2 separate regions of the Homo sapiens genome follow, and region 1 is linked to region 2. The links are contacts of gene promoters, found by promoter capture Hi-C in human tissues and cell types (Jung and others, 2019). All regions are on one chromosome and are shown on one strand. Each heading gives the region's core, a stretch centred on a gene start or on the middle of the fragment in contact. The rest is flanking DNA. Distances are from core to core; before and after follow the strand shown.

Evidence for each region. Contacts are between HindIII fragments. The study calls those that stand out against the background at their distance.
Region 1: a fragment that was not itself captured here is called in contact with the fragment with the promoter of ZNF251 in region 2 in 1 of the 25 tissues and cell types used here (H1 embryonic stem cells).

What each region holds. Positions count from the first base shown.
Region 1 is chr8:144,387,872-144,391,580 of GRCh38, reverse strand. ADCK5 (aarF domain containing kinase 5) reads right to left here. Exons shown (of 15, transcript NM_174922.5): 4 at 835-910; 5 at 525-725; 6 at 307-447; 7 at 107-220; 8 at 1. Among named protein-coding and RNA genes, the nearest start is that of MIR939, 4.5 kb to the left of the region's middle. RefSeq lists an enhancer at 2,631-3,132. The HindIII fragment of the contact is 8,607 bases long and covers 1-3,709 here.
Region 2 is chr8:144,753,851-144,757,610 of GRCh38, reverse strand. It overlaps ZNF251 (zinc finger protein 251), which reads left to right and starts at 2,080. Exons shown (of 5, transcript NM_138367.2): 1 at 2,080-2,206; 2 at 2,808-2,915; 3 at 3,290-3,419. The coding sequence starts at 2,883. It overlaps LOC107986986 (a long non-coding RNA gene), which reads right to left. Exons shown (of 3, transcript XR_001746149.3): 3 at 1-305. The HindIII fragment of the contact is 22,211 bases long and covers 1-3,760 here.

The DNA.
Region 1 (3,709 bases), core at 301-2,800, 370 kb after region 2:
CCTGGGGGCCAGATGGCGGTTGAAGACCAGCTCTGCCTACCAGCTGCTCCTACCAGCTCTGCCTACGTGTTTGCTCCTGCTGGCCGGGGAAGGGGTGGGGCTGTACCTGGAGGACCCAGCTGAAGCCAAAGCTGGGGTGCATGACCTCAACGAGCCGCAGCAGGAGCTCCAGGGTGTGGATGTCCCCATCAAAGCGGTCCCGCAGGTCGATGTACTGCACCTGCACTGGGCGAGGGTGTGGTGAGAACTTGGGGCCCCACTGTGCCCCGCCCCAGCCCACTGCTGAACAAGGCAGCCCCCATATACCTTCACAGCCACGCTGGTGCCATCGTGCAGCTTGGCTCTGTGCACCTGTGCCAGGCTGGCGGCAGCAATTGGCTGGTAGTCAAACTCCTGGAAGAGCTCGTGGGGGAGGGCCTGGAAGTCCTCAAGGAACAACTCATCCACCTGGAAGGACAGGTGCTCAGAGCAGCCTGGGGCCACTGCTGGAGGCCCCACCTCCCTCGGCCTGAGCGCACACTCACCTCCTGGAAGCCCCGCTTGAGGGCCCTGTCCTCTAGCACGCGCAGGGTCCGGGTATACTCGGGGGGAAGCAGGTGGTTGAAGGAGCACAGCCCCTGGCCCAGCTTCACGTAGAGGCCCCCGTTGCTGATGGCCCCTGCCACCAGGGCATCAGCCGCCCGCTGGTGACACGCAGACATCACCTCCAAGTAGCCTGGGCTGTTCTGACCACAGGCATGGGGAGAACACATGGGGACAGGTGGCTGCCTCCTCAGTCCCACCCAGCCCACCACCTCATGCCCACCACTGTGTGCCCAGGGCACCAGGACAAACCTCTTCCACCCCTCGAAGGACAACATTGGTGCACCACCAGTAGTCCAGGGAGATCTGCAGGCCGACCTTCAGAGACCTGCGGGCAGAGGTGGCCTCAGTCTCCAGCGGGGCAGGCTCGGGGCCCCGGTGCTTGGTCCTCTTGTCAGAGCCCTCATGGTCTAGCCTCACCCCGGCCAGCCCTTCATGTCCCAAGGGTGAGGCCAAGCCAGGGTCCAGCCTACAGCCGCGTAGGCCTGTGTGAGCACAAGGGGTGCTGCTGAGCTCGTGGGGTGTCCTGTGGCCCTGCAGGTCAGTCTCAGCTCAAGATCAGTAGAACGGGGCCAGGTGTGGTGGCTCATGTCAATTATCCCATCACATTGGGAGGCTGTGCTGGGAGGATCACTTGAGCTCAGGAGTTCGAGACTGGCCTGGGCAACATGTTGAAACCCTGTCTCTACCAAAAATGCAAAAAAATTAGGCAGGCACGGTGGTGCACACCTGTGGTCCCAGCTCCTCAGGAAGCTGAGGCAGGAGGATCGTTTGAGCCTAGGAGGTGGAGACTGCAGTAAGCTGAGATTGCACCACTGCACCCCAGCCTGGGCAACAGAGCGAGACTCCGTCCAAAAAAGATCTGCAGAGCTGGGCACAGTGGCTCACGCCTGTAATCCCAGCACTTTGGGAGGCCGAGGTGAGTGGATCACCAGAGGTCAGGAGTTCAAGACCAGCCTGGCCAACATGGTGAAACCCCATTTCTACTTAAAATACAAAAAAATTAGCCGGGTGTGGTGGTGCACACCTGTAATCCCAGCTACTCGGGAGACTGAGGCAGGAGAATTGCTTGAACCCGAGAGGCAGAGGTTGCAGTGAGCCAAGATCGCGCCATTGCACTCCAGCCTGGGCAACAAGAGCGAAACTCGGTTTCAAAAAAAAAAAAAAGAGGCTGGGCTTGGTAGCTCACACCTATGATCCCAGCACTTTGGGAGGCCGAGGCGGGCAGATCACAAAGTCAAGAGATTGAGGCCATCCTGACCAACATGGTGAAACCTAGTCTCTACTAAAAATACAAAAATTAGCTGGGCATGGTGGTGCGTGCCTGTAGTGCCAGCTACTCAGGAGGCTGAGGCAGGAGAATCACTTGAAGTCAGGAGGCGGGTTTCGGTGAGCTAAAATTGCGCCACTGCACTCCAGCCTGGCGACAGAGCGAGACTCCGTCTCAAAAAACAAAAAAAGATCTGCAGAATGGGCAGCCTGTGTCCATGCCACCCTCACTCCCTGCCACCCTCAAGGGTGCCCAGGTGAGATGGGGTAGGGGACAGTATGGACGGTGGCATCCTCTGGAGAGATGGGGTTCCAAGGCTGTCTGTGAAGGTAAAGGATGGCAGCAAGGGGGCAGGGCTGAGGCAGCAGAGGTCACAGGAGGGTCAAGGTCACCTGCAGCCTGAGGTCCACTAGGAAGAGAGGAGGACACCAGGAGGGTGGGTCTCCAAGGCCTGGGGAGGCAAGGTCTGCAGGGAAGAGAGCCCAGTTAAGGCAGGAAGTGGGGGACATCCTGGGTATCTGTTGAGCAGGTACTGGGCTCCTGGGGGAGATTTAGGCAAGAGGATGGGGTAGAGGGGTGTCCCCAGGCCTGGCCCCAGTTAGGAGGATATCAGGGTGGGAGCCCTGGGAGAACTCTGGGGACCAGCTGGGCAGCCCTGGAATGAGGCGCCAGGCAGCGGGCAGACCACACACAGGTGCACAGGGAGGGGCTGAGGTCAGAGTGGCTTCTCCAAGGCTGGCCATGGCCAGAGGCCTGTCCCTGCGTTCTGTGAAGCTCACGTACCTGCCTGGGGACAGGGCCCACAGTCATTCCTGAAGCGCAGCTCTGGCGCTCAGGTGGACTCTGTGTCCCCCATCAACCCAGGGCGACCCCCCGGCCATTCAGGCCCCACTCTGGCCCCCGTAGAGCATCTGGAGTGCGTGCTTGGGTTAGGCCAGGGTTTCGGTTTCTTTTTTTTTTTTTTTGGAGACGGAGTCTCGCTCTGTCGCCCAGGCTGGAGTGTGGTGGCGATCTTGGCTCACTGCAGGCTCCGCCTCCCAGGTTCACGCCGTTCTCCTGCCTCAGCCTCCAGAGTAGCTGGGACTACAGGCGCCCAACACCACGCCCGGCTAATTTTTTTGTATTTTTAGTAGAGATGGGGTTTCACCGTGTTGGCCAGGATGGTCTCGATCTCCCGACCTCGTGATCCGCCCACCTTGGCCTCCCAAAGTGCTGGGATTACAGGCGTGAGCCACCGTGCCCGGCTCTAACTTTTCTACTATTAAAATTTGTTATAGTAAACACAACACTTTTGTAACAAAACTTAAAGATGTGAAAAAGTCCCACAGACTTGTGCTTGGGGGAGAAGGAATTTAATTTTTTTTTTTTTTTTGAGATGGAATCTCGCTCTGTCGCCCAGACTGGAGTGCAGTGGCACAGTCTAGGCTCACTGCAACCTCCGCCTCCCAGGTTCAAGCAATTCTCCCGCCTCAGCCTCCCGAGGAGCTGGGACTACAGGTGCCCACCACATGCCCAGCTAATTTTTCTATCTTTAGTAGAGATGGGGTTTCTCCACGTTGGTCAGGCTGGTCTCGAACTCCTGACCTCGTGATCCGCCCTCCTCGGCCTCCCAAAGCATTTTCACATTGCATTTCACATTGCCTCACAGAGCATTTTCAACATTGCTGTATGTTTGAAGTTTTTCACAAAATGTTGGAGGCCGGGTGTGGTGGCTCACACCTATAATCCCAGCACTTTGGGAGGCCAAGGCGGGCGGATCCCCTGAGGTCAGGAGTTCAAGACCAGTCTGACCAACACAGAGAAACCCGCCTCTACTAAAAAATACAAAATTAGCTGGGTGTGGTGGCGTGTGCCTGT
Region 2 (3,760 bases), core at 831-3,330:
GAGGTGGAGGTTGCAGTGAGCCAAGATCTCACCATTGCGCTCCAGCGTGGGCAACAAGAGTAAAACTCCACCTCAAAAAAAAGAAAGAAAGAAACAATCTCTATCTTTTGTGCTCATTGCTGATCAAATCCATGTAAATATGGCAAACCAGCCTAGCATCTGTGGCAGTTGACGCCGGTAACCCTGTCAGCTGCTGGATTGCTGCCTAGGGACTGCTTGGATGCTTGGCAGTTGGTAGCCCTGTAAATAGGAAATATCCATTAGGAGAGCCTGCAGCCACCAGTCACAGAGTGATTACACGCCCCCTGTAGGAGATGTGAAAAAGAAAAAGAGGAAATCAAATATTCTGCAATCTTACAACTAGTAATGATGTATTTATTTTCAGCTTTTTATATACGTTTTTCAAGCACTTCCCAAGTATTTATAGAGTACTTACTATGTTCCAGGCTGGTGGCTGAGCAGTGAACAAACCAACCTAGGTCCTTATATCTGGAAACCTTAAGTTTGTGAACTTAAACACCCATATATACAATTGAGATCATATCATAAATATAATTTTGTATTCTATTTTTCACATTCTATTTCATAAGCATTACCCTCTGCCAATACTTTTTTTTCAAATACCACACATAATGGCTGCATAATGTTCAACTGAGTGTACAGAAGACAATAGATTTATCTATTTCTGTGCTGCAAAAAGCATAATTATCTTCCATTTCCCCTTCTATGAATAACTAGCTATTTTCCAAATTCTCCCCATTATTTAAAAAAAACCACACACACAACAAACTCTGGAATGGGCACCCTTCTCTTTGTCATTTTTGTTATTTCCATAGGATAGATTCCTAGATTAATTGAAGTGTTTAAGGCTCTTTATGTACAGCTTAATTCATTTTCAACATTGTACTAAACACGCTTCCTCAAGCATAGCAGTGCGTAATTCTCCACAATCTCCCCAGCACTGATATTAATAATGTAAGGCATCTTCTTAATCATGTGTGACTTTGCATGGTGCTTTAGACTTCTAGACATTCTCCATCCTCGTTGATCGTCTCAAGTTCAGATATAAAATTTCTGCCTTGATTCTAACACAGTGTACAGGGCCTACACTATATTCTGGGTGACAAGATGGCTTGGCTTTCCTTTCCTTCTCCCCCTGCTCCTAAGCTGGTCTCCTCACCTTTATCAAGTGCTATTTTTTCAACCATGCTTTATTGTGTAGGGGCCAAAGGGAAAGTTCCTCTTTGCCCTCTGAAGGTTCACTGAAAGCCAACTCATAAAAGGCAGATTTTTGGAGAAAAGGCAAATAAATGGATTATTTATTTATTTATTATTTATTTTTGAGATGGAGTCTCGCTCTGTCACCCAGGCTGGAGTGCAGTGGCGCGATCTCGGCTCACTGCAACCTCCGCCTCCCGGGTTCAAGCGATTCTCCCGCCTCAGCCTCCGGAGTAGCTGGGACTACAGACGCCCGCCACCACGCCCGGCCTTTACCGCCAGTTTTCACACAGAAAAGCGGGGGGAACATCAGAGTCGTGTTTTTAGGTTTTGTGGCTGGCTTTGGGGGTCTGGCCTCTGGGACTCGCCTTGGGTAAAAGGGATTCACTCTGTGAGGAGCCTCGCGGGAGAAAAGAACTGAGACTGGAGGCCTGGGAAGGTCAGAGGGAAACTGCCTCCCAGGCCTTCATTTTGGGGCGTTGTGTTCTGAGCCCCGATAATTGTAACATCTTCATAAGCGACTTTCTGGTGGTTATGGTGAATCGGGACACACGATGTATGGTGACCGACGGGGGAGCCGGGAGCCCAGCGGGGTTAGGGTTCAGGTGAGGGTTTAGGGTCGGGGCGAGCGCGGCGCGGCCCGGATGCGCAGCGTCACCGCGCCAGACCCTCCGCTCAGCTGCCGTGGGCTCTCCCCCTCCCCGACCATAGACGGCGCAGGCCTCCAGTCATCCCAGAGCGGCCCCGGAAGAATCCGGGCGGAACCGCGGCTGGCTTCCGGTTCCCGGCGTTCTCGGAGGCGTACTGAGGCCCCGCAGGGGGCGGGGAAGCCTGCGTGTGCGCAGCTCGGCCCGGCCCGCCCTCTTCATCCTAGCCCGCCCCCTCCCCGGCTCTGGACCCGGTTCTGTGGGAGGGTCCGTTCCGGGCTCGGTGCGACTGCGCAGCTCCTCGGCGCTTCCTCGGTGGCTTCCCCGGGTCGAGCAAACAGGTGGGGCAGTGTCGGACCAGGAAGGAGCGCCAAGCGGGCAGGCAGGCGGGGAGGGCGCGGGGAGGGCGCGGGGAGGCGGCGGCCAGTCCAGGAGGAGCCTGTTCTGGGTGCCGCGGGAGCCACCGACGGGCTGCAGAGGCCGGGAGGAGGCGACCGCGGCGCGGCCCTAGAAGGCTGGACTGAGGACCACAGCTGGCTTCCGGCCTCTCCCCGGAGCCTGGGGCCTTCGGCAGCATCCCCGCGGCCTCCTTCTCACGTCCTCAGCCTTGGTGAGGCTGCACCCTCACGTGGCTCTTTGCCCCAGGTTGGCCAGGCAGGTAGAACGGCCCTGCACCCCATTTCCAGGGCCTTCAGCAGGTCTGGACCACGGGAACTGCCAGCTTTCACCCCTTAGCCGGGCGTCCCTGGATCCCCCCGGGCTCTGGCTCTGGCCGTTCTGGGATTTCAGGAGTCACTGAGCAGTAGGGCACGTCGGCCCGTGCTGCATAGTGACCTGCCTCCCGCGACCCAGGAGGCCACAGCAGCAATCAGCTTCTGCCTCCTGGCCATCCTTCCACACCCCTGGTTGAATGGGGCTGAGCCTGAGTTCTCCCCACTGAAGGTAAGTTCGGGGAGACTTCAGGCCAGGGCAGTCTCCTGTCTTCTCTTGGAAACCACAGCAGCCCATGCACACAGAATGGCAGCCACATTCCAGCTTCCAGGGCACCAGGTGAGTTAACCCTCCTTCCTGCCCACCTCTTCATCTTCATCCCCATCCCAGTCAGAAGCTACTCTCCTCTGGAGCCGTGAGCCCGGCAACTGGTAAGGCCAGCCAGGGGCTCATAGCAACCGTGAGGAAAGGGTTCTGAGAGGTAGACTCGCCCTCCTGCAGGGAGAGGGGCTCTGAGCTCAGCTGGGTCCCCGTGTAGCTGAAGTTGGCTGGTCCTCAGCGCTCTCAGCTGCCCCATCAGGGACCTGCTGATACACAGTTCATACTGACCACAGCAGGGCCCTGGGTAGTGGGGCCCCACCAGGTCAGGGCCCTTTTAGTGCAGGCTGCTGCCCCGTGGGCATGGCCTGGGCAGCGGCGATGTTTTGTTGCAGGAGATGCCGCTGACCTTCCAGGATGTGGCCGTGTACTTCTCTCAGGCGGAGGGGCGGCAGCTGGGCCCCCAGCAGCGGGCGCTCTACCGGGATGTGATGCTGGAGAACTATGGGAACGTGGCCTCTCTGGGTGAGGCTCTCTGCACTTGGCCTGGTTCGCAGTGGGGGCCTCTGAGGAGCTTGGGAGGCTGCTTTGGCTCTTTGGATCCCAAAGAAGAGGGTCCTGCCCCTTGTCCCCGGGTATCAGTCTGATCTCTACAGAAGGAACATTTCCCATGGGAAAAGCCTGCCTTGCTCCCCAGTTCTAGGGACTTCACTCCCTGTTGCCAGTGGCCCCACTGGTGTCCCTCCAGTGGCAGGAGAGCTGATGAGTGGATTCTCCTTCAGTACTTAGTCTCAGCCCACGGGCCCCCTGACCAACACACGTGCAGGCGTACACACGTGCACACAGGGCCCATCTCTCCACACCTG